Regions from separate parts of the Homo sapiens genome. Here region 1 is linked to region 2. The links are contacts of gene promoters, found by promoter capture Hi-C in human tissues and cell types (Jung and others, 2019). All regions are on one chromosome and are shown on one strand. Each heading gives the region's core, a stretch centred on a gene start or on the middle of the fragment in contact. The rest is flanking DNA. Distances are from core to core; before and after follow the strand shown.

Region 1 (6,443 bases), core at 1,420-3,919, 300 kb before region 2:
AATTCCCTTCTTTTTCCCAGCCACAGATATGACCTCATGAGAAAAGCTGAGGTCTTAGAGTCAAATCTGAGACCCAGAATAGTTTGCAAGCTGTGTGACCTAGGGCTAGTGGCTGAACCTCTCTGGGCTTCCTGCTCCTTGATACTTACAAGGAAATGACACCACCCTTTCCCTCCCAGGTAATTTGGAAGGATTTCAATGCAGGAAAAGTGCCTGCCTTATAAAAGACTTAAAAAAAAAAAAAAAAGTGTGCTTTGACTTCTTCCCTGTGCCTGCATGGGATGGGAAGGAGAACTTCTCCCAGAGGACTGGCATGGTTTGGGAGCATTTCTGTTTCCTATTGGCCCCAGCGGATGGGAGTCAAAGGCTGTGAGACACAGAACCGTGGCCTGGGAGCAGGAATCAGGAAGCCGTTAACGAGGAATCATAACCACAGCCAGGATCACGAACTAGCTCTGGGGGTGGGTGCCAGGCAGGGACCAAGTGTGGGAACCAAGTCATAGGGAGGACTTTTGGGGTCCTTGCTGCTTCCACTGGGACCTCTTTGGGGAGGGAGCGGCAGGGCAACTTTTCTCGGTCCAGGCAGGCCGTGCAGAGCTGAGTTTGTGTGTGCCCGGGTAGGGGCGGGCACAAACCGGGAGCAGTGGAGCGCAGCCCTCAGCCAGAGGCAGGAGGAAATGTGGAGGGGAGAGCCTGGAGAGGCTGTCCCAGTCAGAGGGAGAGAGCAGGGCCCGAGATGCTTCCAGGAAGCAAGGAGGGAGGAGAGGAATTCCAGGCTCTGACCCCAGCCCCCAAGCTTGAGGAGCCTCTGGTCACTCACCCTGTGTCCTGTGGCCTCCCCAGGCGACTCACGGACCCTGAGCCACTGCATGGCCTCTGGCTCCTTGGCCCATGTCTGCAATACTAACTTGTTGCTGGCCCAGACCCCCAGGCCCAGCAGAGGAGGGAGAGAGGAGGGGATGGAGGGAGAGAGGGCGGAGGGAGGGCGGAGGGAGAGGGCAGAGCCGCTTCCCACTTCCCCTCCTCCCTGCTCCCTCCCTTTCAGCCTCTGGGTTCTGCGGAGATAAAGGGAGGCAGGGATTTCCTTTGCTTAACTCTTTGGTGATCCAGTGGGGTCTTGCTTGATTCAAAGGCCTAGAAAGTCAGAGCAGGCAGGAGTCTGAGGCCCCCTGATGATTGGGAAATGGACACAGGCATGGGGCACAGGAGCCCCTAGGTTGCTCAGGAAGGGGGAGGCAGCCCTGAGTCCACCCTGAGCTAAAGTGCTTAACTGCTCTGAGTCACAGAGGCAGGGTGGGTAGCAGAGAAGGTGCAGGTGTTGGCCCTCCAGGCACAGGCTAGAATCCTGGCCCTGCTACCACAGTCGCGTCGCCTCTCAGAGCCTAGGTGTTCCAGAACTGCAGTCCTCAGCCCCCTTTGTGCCAGGCACATGGGAGGGCTTAACCCATGTTTGTTGGGTGAATGACCAGGCTGACCTCCTCAGGTATCATGCAAGTGTTACCAGAGAGGGGTACTGATCAGACCCCAAGAGAGAATTCTTGGATCTTGCACCAGAAAGAATTTGGGGTAAGTCCACAGAGCAAAGTGAAAGCAAGTTTATTAGAGAAGCAAAGAAACAAAAGAATGGCTACTCCATAGGCAGAGCACCCCCAAGCACTGCTAGTTGGCTATTTTTATAGTTATTTCTTGATCCTATGCTAAACAGGGGTGGATTATTCATGAGTTTTCCAGGAAAGGGGTGGGAATTTCCTGAAACTGAGGCTTCCTCCCCCTTTTAGACAATATAGGGTAATTTCCGGACATTGCCATGGTATTTGTAGGCTGTCTTGGTGCTGGTAGAAGTGTGTTTTAGCAAGCTAACACATTTTAATTAACATACAATGAGCAATAAGGATGACCAGATGTCACTTTCATTGCAATCTTAGATTTGGCAGGTTTTGGCTGGTTTGTTTACCGCATACTGTTTCTCAGCAGGGTCTTGATGACCTGTATCTTGTGATACCAGTCCTGCCAACTTCCTATCCCTTCCTGTGACTACAAATGCCTGACCTCCTGGGAATGCAGCCTGGCAGGTCTTAGCCTCATTTTACCCAGCCCCTATTCAAGATGGAGTTGCCCTATTTTGAACACCTCTGACATATTTCCCTACTCTCTTTTACGAGGGAACGTTTAATCTTAAGGGTTGTAGAGGCATGAAGATCCATCTTCTGTAACTTCTTCAGGCTGAATAGAGGCGATGATATTCCTGCCTAACTATTAGAGTCTCTTGGGTTTGGTGCAGAGAGGAACTGAGTAAGAAAATGTTGGTGTGTTCAGAGTCATTTGTAACTCTGAGTCCTAACAAAAGGTGATATCTGGAAGATTAATGTGTTCAATTTAAGGAAGCACTGAGTAAGCTTATCTTGCATTCTTACACAAAGAGTATAGCAGCAATATATTCTACAACAGCAAAGTAAAATAAGTAAAATTATCCCAAGTAATCCAAATAAGAAGGCTTTCCATGAACTGGGCAAGAATGCCTGTGACTTATCGGGTAAAATGAGGCTGAGACCTACTGGGCTGCATTCCCAGGAGGTTAGGCATTCTTAGTCACAGGAATTGCTAGATGAGCTGATACGGAGTTGCTAGACGATTCCAATACATGCTCAGAATTAGATACTGATCCAGATTTTTATGTTATCCATCCCTCTTGTTTCTGACGAGAAGCAGTCAAGAGATGACTGTTTGGTTCACAGAAAGAAGCAAGGTCAGTCTAAATTGCAGACAAAAAACTCAAAAACAATGGATGAGACTAGAATCTATGACAGGTGTACCATATTTTTTGAAACACCGTTTTTCTCTCTCCAGTCTCCCATTTTTTATTAAAAACAAATCATGGTAGGACCAATTTATTTGCAAAATAAGCTTTAGTCTTATTATACTTGGCTTCATTATTTGCATAAAGTGCAGCAAGTATAATTATTTGCCATACAGGCTCCTTTTAAAATTGGCTTTGTTTCATAAGGTATCTTAGATTAGATGTTTTAAAGCTTTGAGCCCAGCCATGGATTTACCTATGCCTGCAAGAACCTGTATGAGTTAGATAAATTCCTCTCCTCTTGAGGTCCCGAGATAACTCGGGGCTCCCAGGCCTGTCAGAAAGTTACATTCTTTACTTACCACAGGTCAGGAACCCTATACAGGGACTTCATACACAAGGTACAAGACCAGTTTTTCCAAGAGGCTTTTATTGGCTCTATTAGTCAACTTTAATTCCTTAAAGAAGTCTGTTTATATTTGAAAGCATGCCACTCGAGTCAAACCCTTGTTAAATAACCAGTTTCTCCAATTGTGTCCTGTTACAAAAAAAAAAAAAGAAGAAAGAAGGAAAAACAGATTCTTACTGCACTTATGCAAATAACTATATTGCCGTAAGTTAAGAACACTCACAAATAGTTTCCAAATTCTGCAGAAATCAGGTAAAGAGAAAAAAACATATTCCAAATTTTGTTTTTGGACAAAACTTTGTTTTATAATCCTTACCGGAGCGTACTTTACTCAATTGTTAAAAGCTGTAAATAGCTCAAGAAGGGGGGGTTTCTTGACTCTGAAAAACAAAACAGAAAGATCAACAACATTTTAAGCAAAAAGTCATAAAAGATTATTTCAGTCTTTTATTAGTTCAGTCTATGCAATTAATTCCTGTTTTGCTTGATATATATGTGTTAGTTTTCCAAGAGTCTTGGATGATGTTTTCTTTTTCTCTGCATTTAAGAGTACTCATCAGAGTCCTATAGCTGATTATAAACCACCTTTTGAAGAGAATAAAAGCAAGACAACAATTGTCTATGGATGACAGAAAGACTTAGAGCAGTCATGGTTAAAGAATTAATATCATTGACTAGGAAATGTGGATACCTCTGTGGCATATAATAAATTAACATCATAACAATTATAATTATTATTGATAATGTCCATTAGTATTGATAATGTTCATATCAGAATTATAGGAGTTTCCCATAATTTTGGAACACATACCAATAACATATTTATATAAACACAGCCCAAAGAAAGCCAAACACAATTTCATATTTGACAATGCTTCCTGTATTATTTTAATGTACCAAATAAGCCAAATATGTCATTTTTGGACTTTAGGGGACCTAATATCTAAAGGACTAATCAGGTTAGAAAAAGGCATAACTTAGAATTTGATTTTGGAAAGTTTGTCAAATATCAAAAATTTAAAACATTTGATACTACAAAATAGCATCCCAGGTCACCATAAGTCATTTATTTGGCCAAAATGATAACTCAAAGATGTTTTTAAGGGCAAAAACCTTTACTCACCGATAAAGGGAAGACTTAGCTTTCCAAAAAAAACTGTCTCTTTTCGTTCCTTTCTTTTTTCTATAGCTTATTCAAAAGGCAAACAAAAATCTTTAATTATTTTTCAATATTACATGAAAAACTTGTTCAAGAGAGAAAGCCAAATTTTACCTTTGCATTTGTGTACTATTAATGTCAAACCCAATTCATAATAAAGCCTTATAGACAACTCTATCCAATTTTAATGTTTGACCATGAGGTAAGAGTCTCATAAACCTTTTATAGCTCTTTACAATTTTCTTGTTAAAGAGTATACCAGTGCTCTAAGAAAACCTTGTTATACTTTTATTCCATATTTAATTTATGGAAAAACTGAATAATATCCCTTTAATTTAAGCCAATAAGTTCACACAGAATTTCTTTTACAAGATTAATCTTTCACAAACCTTCCATAACTTGCTCAAACCTTCAGCTTTATCCTACCTAACTTGAAACAATCCTTTAACCCTCTAAAGTAGGGGGAAAGTCCACATTCCCATGCTTTCTTATAATCTTCTTACCAAAAGCATATTCAATTTTCCTTACACACCTTGCATATAAAACTGTTTCTCTAGTAGTCTCAATTACATATAACATATTACGATGTTAACTCTTAGCAACTTTTATTTTTTGGTGAAAAACCTGGTAAGTAAGCAGTTTTACTTATATTCCAGGTGTGGAGCCTAGGACAGCCTTATCTGCAGAAGTGCAGATAAGGTCTGACTCTTTCCAGCATAGCTGGGGGCATGGCTAACTCGACAAGTCCCCAGGCCTTATCTAGAATCTAATGGCCCCAAAGCAGGTAAGCTGGGCAATTTTCAAAAGTCAATGATGCAGTTTATGACCTTGAGGCATTTAGCAAACCTAAAATCTGACCTGCCTAATTTAGACCAAATGTCTAAAGTTTGAAGATATTTTAATGTTACTGATAATCTTTAAAACTGTCTCTATTTCCCAAAGATTATTAAAGTCATGTGAACCAAAAGGCATTAATGTTTCTATTTTTCTGACAAAATATTTGATTTAAGTACTTATTATTTTTAAGCCAATTAATCAGAGCTCTTTCATATATCAACATCACACACACAACATATATAAATACACAGACAGAAGATCCAGTAGTTGTAAGATTTTTCATTTGCCAATTTTTAAGTTTCTTAATTGGATTACTGACTTCAGGGTGGAGCCCTTCAAGAAACAGGGCCAGGAAAGCCTGCAGTTTCTAAGGCCTAATAAGCAGGCACAGCTGGAAGGCAAAACAGAACCCCAAAATTAAGGGTTTCATTTTTATATTGGATCCTGGATCCCAAAGAGAGGGAATCAGCCCATCCCCCATGGCAGTCTTATCTTTCAATGGAGGGTGGGGACACTTCCATACTTTCTAGGTGGCCAAGAGCATGCTTTTCTGATCCAAAGGTGCGAAGAGCCAAGTATCCCCACAAAACTGCCATTAGCCATCCCTAAAAGTGTATTCCCCACCTAGTTATTACATAGCAAGGCTAAAAGCTCTCTTAAAATGCAAAGTAATTTCTGATATCCCCAAAAGTCAAAACTGTCAGATAACACAATACAAAACAGAGCAGAGCCTTAGATTTTGAGAGTGGTCTATCTGCTTTCAATTCCTGGGGGTGTCCATGAGGAGAACAGAGGTTTCTCCCAAAACAGGGTCTGTAGCACCTCCTTTTTTCCTGAGAAGTCCCAGGCTATTAAAATTTATCTTAGGTCCTCTCAGGTGGGGCATCAAGAGTGGCAAGAAGACAAAATGGGGAAAAAAATTAAGTCGACTGAAAAGAAAAAATTTTTCAGAAAAATAAGAGCCAAGAAGAGAAAAAAAAGCATAAAGGCCTTTTAAATATATGTATAGCTTGGATATCCATTTTTAATTAAGCTGACTTTTAACCAAATCTTGTTACCAGACTCTAGCCGGGACAAACAGCCAATATTTCTGGCTTTTGAACTTCACTAACAGTAACCTCCCAGGTGAAACCGGTAAGCCTTAACTAAGGTTAGCACTTAACCCAGGTATACAAGGTATTTTCAAAGAGGTGATAAGCAGTTTTTACGAGATCTAGAATCGCCAAGGGTAGTGCAGAGAA
Region 2 (6,175 bases), core at 1,660-4,159:
GGCTGAGGACTGTTTCCCGGTGAAGATCTAGTAAGCCTGAATAAAGCAGGAGAATAGGCACTTTGGGAGGCCAAGGCAGGTGGATCATTTGAGGCCAGGAGTTCAAGACCAGCCTGGCCAACATGGCAAAACCCCATCTCTACTAAAAATAGAAAAATTAGCCGGGCGTGGTGCGCATGCCTGTAGTCCAAGCTACTCAGGAAGCTGAGGATCACTTGAAACCAGGAGGCGGAGGTTGCAGTGAGCCAGGATCGTGCCACTGCACTCCAGCCTGGAAAACAGAGTGAGACTCTGTCTCAAAATAAACAAAACAAAACACCAGCAGCCATGAACAGAGTGAGGGAGAGAGCCGGGAAGGGGAGTCCAGGTCCAGAGGGGGCGGGGGCACAGGAGAGGGCAGTGAGGCTGGCGCTTTCAGTCCCTGGGAATCCTAAGGTTGGCACAGAGCGATGGGCAGAGTTTCTTTGGAGCCAAGGGCTGCATTTGACTTGTTTAAGGAGGGGACCTGACAATGGTGAAAACTTCACAGGCAGCCGCGGGAAACAAAGGGACACGCAGCCTGCTGGGGCAGGGGAGGGGTGGCCGGGGACCATCTGCTGCAGAGGAGGGGAGTGGTGGGGCTGCTGCCACCTCTCCCCCCAACAAGGGGACCATAGGGAGGAGAAAGGCTCGCCTTGAGCACAAAACCCGCCTCCCCCAGCCCACCCCCTCAGCCCAGGACAAAGGCCGGCACACGAGTCCCGGCCCCTGCCGCAAGGCCCACCTGCCACCCGACCGCCCTTAACCAGCCAGGCGGGCGCCCAGCGCTGCAGTTAACCAGCTCAGGCCCGGTCCAGACACTCCTGCCCCGTGCAGATGGGGAAACTGCGGGCCGAAAGGGGAGGGCCTTGGCTGAGGTCACAGAGAGAAGTGAGCCAAAGGGTGAGAGACGTGGGGTAGCGACTCCTGTAGCCCAGTGACCCAGTCCTCACAGGGTTCCCAAGTCTCAGCAGGGGAGAAAAGCACCCAACCAGGAGCAAGGTTCTAGGTCCCACTGGGCTCTGTCCCCTCAGGCCTTCTGCGTGACACCACGCCAGCCAGCACTTCCTCTCTCTGGCCTCAGTTTCCTCATCCGGGGCAAGGGCACCACCGCGGTGATGGAGATAAGACAGGAAAGGGCCGTGGGCCACGTGAGGCCACGCTCCCGGGTACACAGACGCATAAACAGGAAGGCCTGCGGGAGGGCCCGCCTTGGCTGCTTCCGCAGGAAGAACCAGGATCTCCCCAAGATGAGAAGCCGTGTGGGGCCCAGAGAAGAGCTGAGGTGCTGGGGGCCAGCTGGGGAAGAGTTAATCCCAAGTACGAGGGCAGAAATCAGGGCAGGGTGCCCCTCCCCAGGAGGGCCTGGCCTCTGCCAGCCATCCTCTCCCCCTCCTTTTGGTCTTCCAGGAGGTCTCGACTATCTCCAAAGACTCAGTCACTTCCTCCCACTGAGCCAGCCGCCAAAGAGGGGACCGATGTGTGTGTGTGTGTGTGTGTGTGTGTACCCATTCTCCACCTCCCCCATCAACGGTCCCTAACACCGACATCACTAACTTTGCTTAAGGAAGATACTGGATGCGAGGAGGGAAAGGGCTGGAAGGGACTTGGCTCGCCGGAGCCGCACAGCCATGTGACAGACATGCCTCTTGTCACACACATCTAGCACACTCCAGCTCCGTGCGTGTGAGCACACACACACACACACACACAATCCCACGTGCCAGGCAGGCCTCCCCAACCTCCGGCCCACCACTGCCTCAGCCGCCACCCTCGTGGCATGCGCTCTCCTTCCCTCCCTCGGAAGCAGTCCGCAGGAAGCCAACACAGGAGGCCAGACATGGCGGCCTCGGCACACCCGGGGCAGCAGAGACACAGCGGCAGGGGCTATCGGGAAGGCCGAAGGGATGCCTCCCCCAAGAACAGACCCCACCATTCTCCTCCCGTCCTCCACCCTCAGAGCCCGGGCAGGACAGCACCTAGGGCCTGGGTGGGACAGCCTGGCCTGGGCACGGGTCTGGGTCAGGACCTCTTGGAGGCCTCCACCCCAGCTGCCCAACACCCACCATTACCCCTGATGCCAGGCTGGGCCTGGGTGGCTAGGAGCGAAGCCCCCACGGGAGCGGCTAGGAATAGAAGAACCCCCAGGAGGGACCCGGGAGCCTGGAGCAGGGGCCCAGCCTGGCCCCCAAAAGTGGTGGAGCGGTAGGACCTGGGTGCACCTGGAGTCAGGACCAGTACAGGGCACGGGCAGGGCCGCAGGCAGCCCCTAAAGCCCGGAAGAAGGAGAGAGGAAGAGGATCCCTGATTAGGCAGGTATTGAGCAGCTTCTCCCATGAGGCAGTCAGGGACCCCAGCCCAGTAGAAAGGCCTCTGAGAACCCCTTAGGCCAGGGGCCACCCCCAGGGCCCAATGTCACCCACTTGTCACCTGTTCCCTGGTCCTGGAAACCCACGTGTCAAGCAGCAGCTCCAGGCGCAAGCGGTGGAAAGCCCGGGTCGTCTTCACTGCAATGAAGACATCGTGTAGCTGTAGCTTAGGGGGCCCCGGGTTCGGCTGGCTCAGCTCGGGGGTCCCTTGTACCCGCTGCGGGGACAGGTTCAAGTGGTACCGCAGACACAGGAGCCCCATGCACAGGAGGGTGAGGAGGGCTCCAGCCAGGCCCCGCGGGAGCCGGCACTGCATTGGTTGGCCCTGGGACCCCAGACAGCTCAGCCCCCAAATCCCAACCAGACAGGGAGGGGAAGCTGGTCAGGCAGGGGCTCCAGCAGAGGCAAAAGTCTGGCAGGCATCAGGGGCTGGCAAGGAGGGAAGAGGTAGGAGCTGAGGCTCTGGACCCAGAGGCTGAGCCATGGCAGCACGATCTCGACCGCCGCCAGTCCTCCACCTGCTCCCGCTGTCCGGCCTGCCGCAGCCTCCGGGACCGCCTGGCCCCGCCCCGCTTAGCCCGAGGGGCGGGGCCAGACGAAGGGAACCCCAGACAGAGGCGGCTGAAAGGAGGCACCAGCAGAAAGGGCAGCCCCGGCTCTGCCAGCTGCTGCGGTGGGAGGAAGTCACAACAAACCCTCCGTGCCCGGTGGAAGGGAGTGTCCTCCAGCACCGTCCACTCCCCCAGAGAGCTGTCAGCTCGGCCCATTCAACACCCATTACTTTGGTGTCCTGCTTCACCCAGCCCCCAGCTTTTGCTCACAGGTTTCCTCCGGGATGCTCTCCCATATTCCACCAGCCTCACCCACATTCCCTCCACTAGGCTGAGTTCTATCTGGACTTCAAAGCTTAAGGGTTCCCTCCTCCAGGAAGCCTTCCGTGATAACCTCTTAACCTCTGGGGCTCCCACAGTTGTTCGCTCAGTTCCTGAGGTCTTCACAACAGCACTGGGACTGTCGTTCCCAGTTTATAGCTGAAGACATAAGGCACAAAGGCACAGAATGAGCAAAAACGATCCAGCAACTCAGCCGCAGAGCTGGCAGAACCCAGGTCTCTGTTCCTCATCTAGTTCACAGGAGGTCCCCTGAGGGCACCTGTCCAGCTGTGCCCCAGCCCATACCCGACCTCACTCCGCAGTCTCTGGAGCTGCCTCTCTCCCAGCACCTGACCAGTGGACAGACAGAGGGCCTTCTCCAGCCACCACCTCCATCTTGTTTCGCACAAGCTCACTCACACCTCCTCCCTCCTCCACTCAGAGCCTGCACTGGCTCCCATTTTCTTCAGAACAAAAGCCAAAACGCACACAGCAGCCCACAAGGCCCTGCGTGAGCTGGCTCCCAAGTTACTCCCACCCCATCTCCTGCTACTCACCCTGCTCCACTCCAGAACCTGGGACCCTCGCTGGCCCAGGCACCTGGCCGCCACAGGACCTTGGCACTTGCTGTTCCCACCTGGGCCCCTCCCTAGAGACCTGCACGTCTCACTCCCCCACTCCCTTCTGGTCTTTACACAAAGGTCACCGTCTCTGTGAGGCCTTCCCTGACCACGTTATTAACATTGCAACCCCTCGCCGCCTCCTTCCCAGCCCCCCAGGCCTGTCCCTCTCAAGCCACTTCACTGTTTTCTTCATCACACTTTTCATCTTCCAACATTCTGTATGTTTAACTAAGTTTCTGTCCTCCTCATGAGAATATCAGGGCAGGATTTATTTTTTGATCACTGAGTCCCTAATCCCCAGTGCCTAGAACAGTGACCGGCAGACAAGAACTCAATCAATGTTAATTCAACACAACAAAGTACCAGGTGGCTGGCAAAGGGAAGTGGCCCTGCCGGGCTCAACCCTGCATGAGGACAGCTGGGGGAGAGGAAGGGAAAACCAACCCTTTGAATGACCTTCTCATGGGCCAGCCCCCAGCCAGGCCCCTTCACAGGCCATATTCTCAGAATGGTGATGATGCCAGCCTTGGTGATGATCCCAGACTCTGTACCCCACAGACCAGGTTTAAATCCTGACTGGGGGCTGGGCGCCATGGCTCACGCCTGTACTCCCAGCACTTTGGGAGGCCAAGGCAGGCAGATCACTTGAGGTCAGGAGTTCAAGACCAGCCTGGCCAACATGGTGAAACCCCGTCTCTACCAAAAATACAAAAATTAGCTAGGCATTGTGGCAGGCACCTGTAATCCCAGCTACTAGGGAGGCTGAGGCAGGAGAATCACTTGAACCCGGGAGGCAGAGGTTGCAGTGAGCCGAGATGGCGCCATTGCACTCCAGCCTAGGCAACAAGAGTGAAACTCCATCTCAAAAAAAAAAATTCCCAACTGGGCCACTCACTGGCTGTATGACTCTAGGAAAGTTACCTTCATCATTTCTAAAATGGGGACAAAAATATGACTTGGTGACGATTACAGGATGAGTGGGCTTCTCCACCCCACAGAAAGGATGCTTGACACGGGGAACAGGCAAAGGCAGCCAAGTCACAGGCCCCTGCCTTTCCCCAGGCCAAGCACTGGGCCAGGCTCACTGTGGGGCAGGGGGAGGTTCATGTACCCAAATGCACACAGCCCAGTTTCCATGCCCAGGAAGCCACAGACATCGAGAGACAGCCACACAGACACCCTCGTCCCACCACAAGGCAGAATATGGCATGGGCCAGGAGAAGTCCCAAGGGCTGGGAGGACCTGGTGGTGGGTTTCATGGAGATACGTAATATCTCAGCCAGGCTTCAAAGATCAGGAAGATTCAGGCAGGGAGAGCAGCCCAGGCAGGGGCCACATGAGCAGAGGAGCACAGCTAAGGGTAAACTGAAAGGCCACTGCCACTGCCCGCGGTGGGGAGGATGTGGCTGGGGGGATGGGAGAGTCAACACCTGGGAAGGCCTGGAGTAGAAAGCGGCATTGCCGCTGATTCCCATGCAGGGAGGCTGCCCTTCCCCCAGGGCACCGCCTTTGCCACTCAGGGTCCAGCTCCCCAGCCCCTACCCCAGTGGTGACAGACTGGCAGGCCTCCAAGTCCAATCTGCACCTTGTCAAAGACACCCTGTCGTAGAGAGTGGGAAGACCTTTTCCCAAGCAATGGCTCAGCCCCAGCCACACGTGCTCACCTAGCCGTGGCCAATCCGTACCTCCATGCTCACTCCACCATCCGGGCCTCCACTCCACAGGGGAGGGCCCTGGGCCCAGAGAGGCCACCCGAGTTGCCAGGGTCTCCTGGCTGACCAGAGCTTTGGGTTTCAACCAAACTACAGTGCCCTGCGCACCCTGCACTCCATCCTGGGAAAGCCTCTCTGGGTTCCCGGGACAGCCTGGGCCCACCGTCCACCCTGGCCTCATACCCAAGCACCGTCATCCTGCGTGGTCCAGTCTCTGAGACCCTCACCACCTCTCCCCTACACCCACTCCTTGTCTCTTCCCACTAAAGATGGGGCTGTGGCCCCCTGATCCACACCCCAATCCCCTCTCCCAGCTTCTCCATTCCCTTCTCCACCCACCACCCCAAATCCCCAGCCCTGACCCCTTCTTAAGCATTTTTCTTGTCAAACATGGAGATCCAGACCCACCCCTGGAGGCCACAGATCCCCTCCTTCCTGTCTGCTCCTCTCTCCTCCACTGCCCCTGCCCCCCACCCCCTACTCCAATTGGCCTCAGCCCTCTCTAAGTCAACTCCAAACCAGAGCTCCCATAGCCCTGCTCCCACATCCTGAGAGGCTCCCACAGCCTCCAGGGCACAGCC

What was found. Contacts are between HindIII fragments. The study calls those that stand out against the background at their distance.
Region 1: a fragment that was not itself captured here is called in contact with the fragment with the promoter of MFNG in region 2 in 8 of the 25 tissues and cell types used here (H1 embryonic stem cells, IMR-90 fibroblasts, dorsolateral prefrontal cortex and 5 more).

What each region holds. Positions count from the first base shown.
Region 1 is chr22:37,187,343-37,193,785 of GRCh38, forward strand. C1QTNF6 (C1q and TNF related 6) reads right to left here and starts at 905. Exons shown (of 3, transcript NM_031910.4): 1 at 821-905. The coding sequence starts at 871. RefSeq lists enhancers at 9-644, 645-1,278, 1,279-1,914, 1,915-2,548. The HindIII fragment of the contact is 4,689 bases long and covers 326-5,014 here.
Region 2 is chr22:37,483,475-37,489,649 of GRCh38, forward strand. MFNG (MFNG O-fucosylpeptide 3-beta-N-acetylglucosaminyltransferase) reads right to left here and starts at 2,910. Exons shown (of 8, transcript NM_002405.4): 1 at 2,449-2,910. The coding sequence starts at 2,703. RefSeq lists enhancers at 1,795-1,854, 2,255-2,304, 2,781-3,290, 3,291-3,802, 3,803-4,312 and 2 more and a silencer at 2,875-3,004. The HindIII fragment of the contact is 15,221 bases long and covers 1-6,175 here.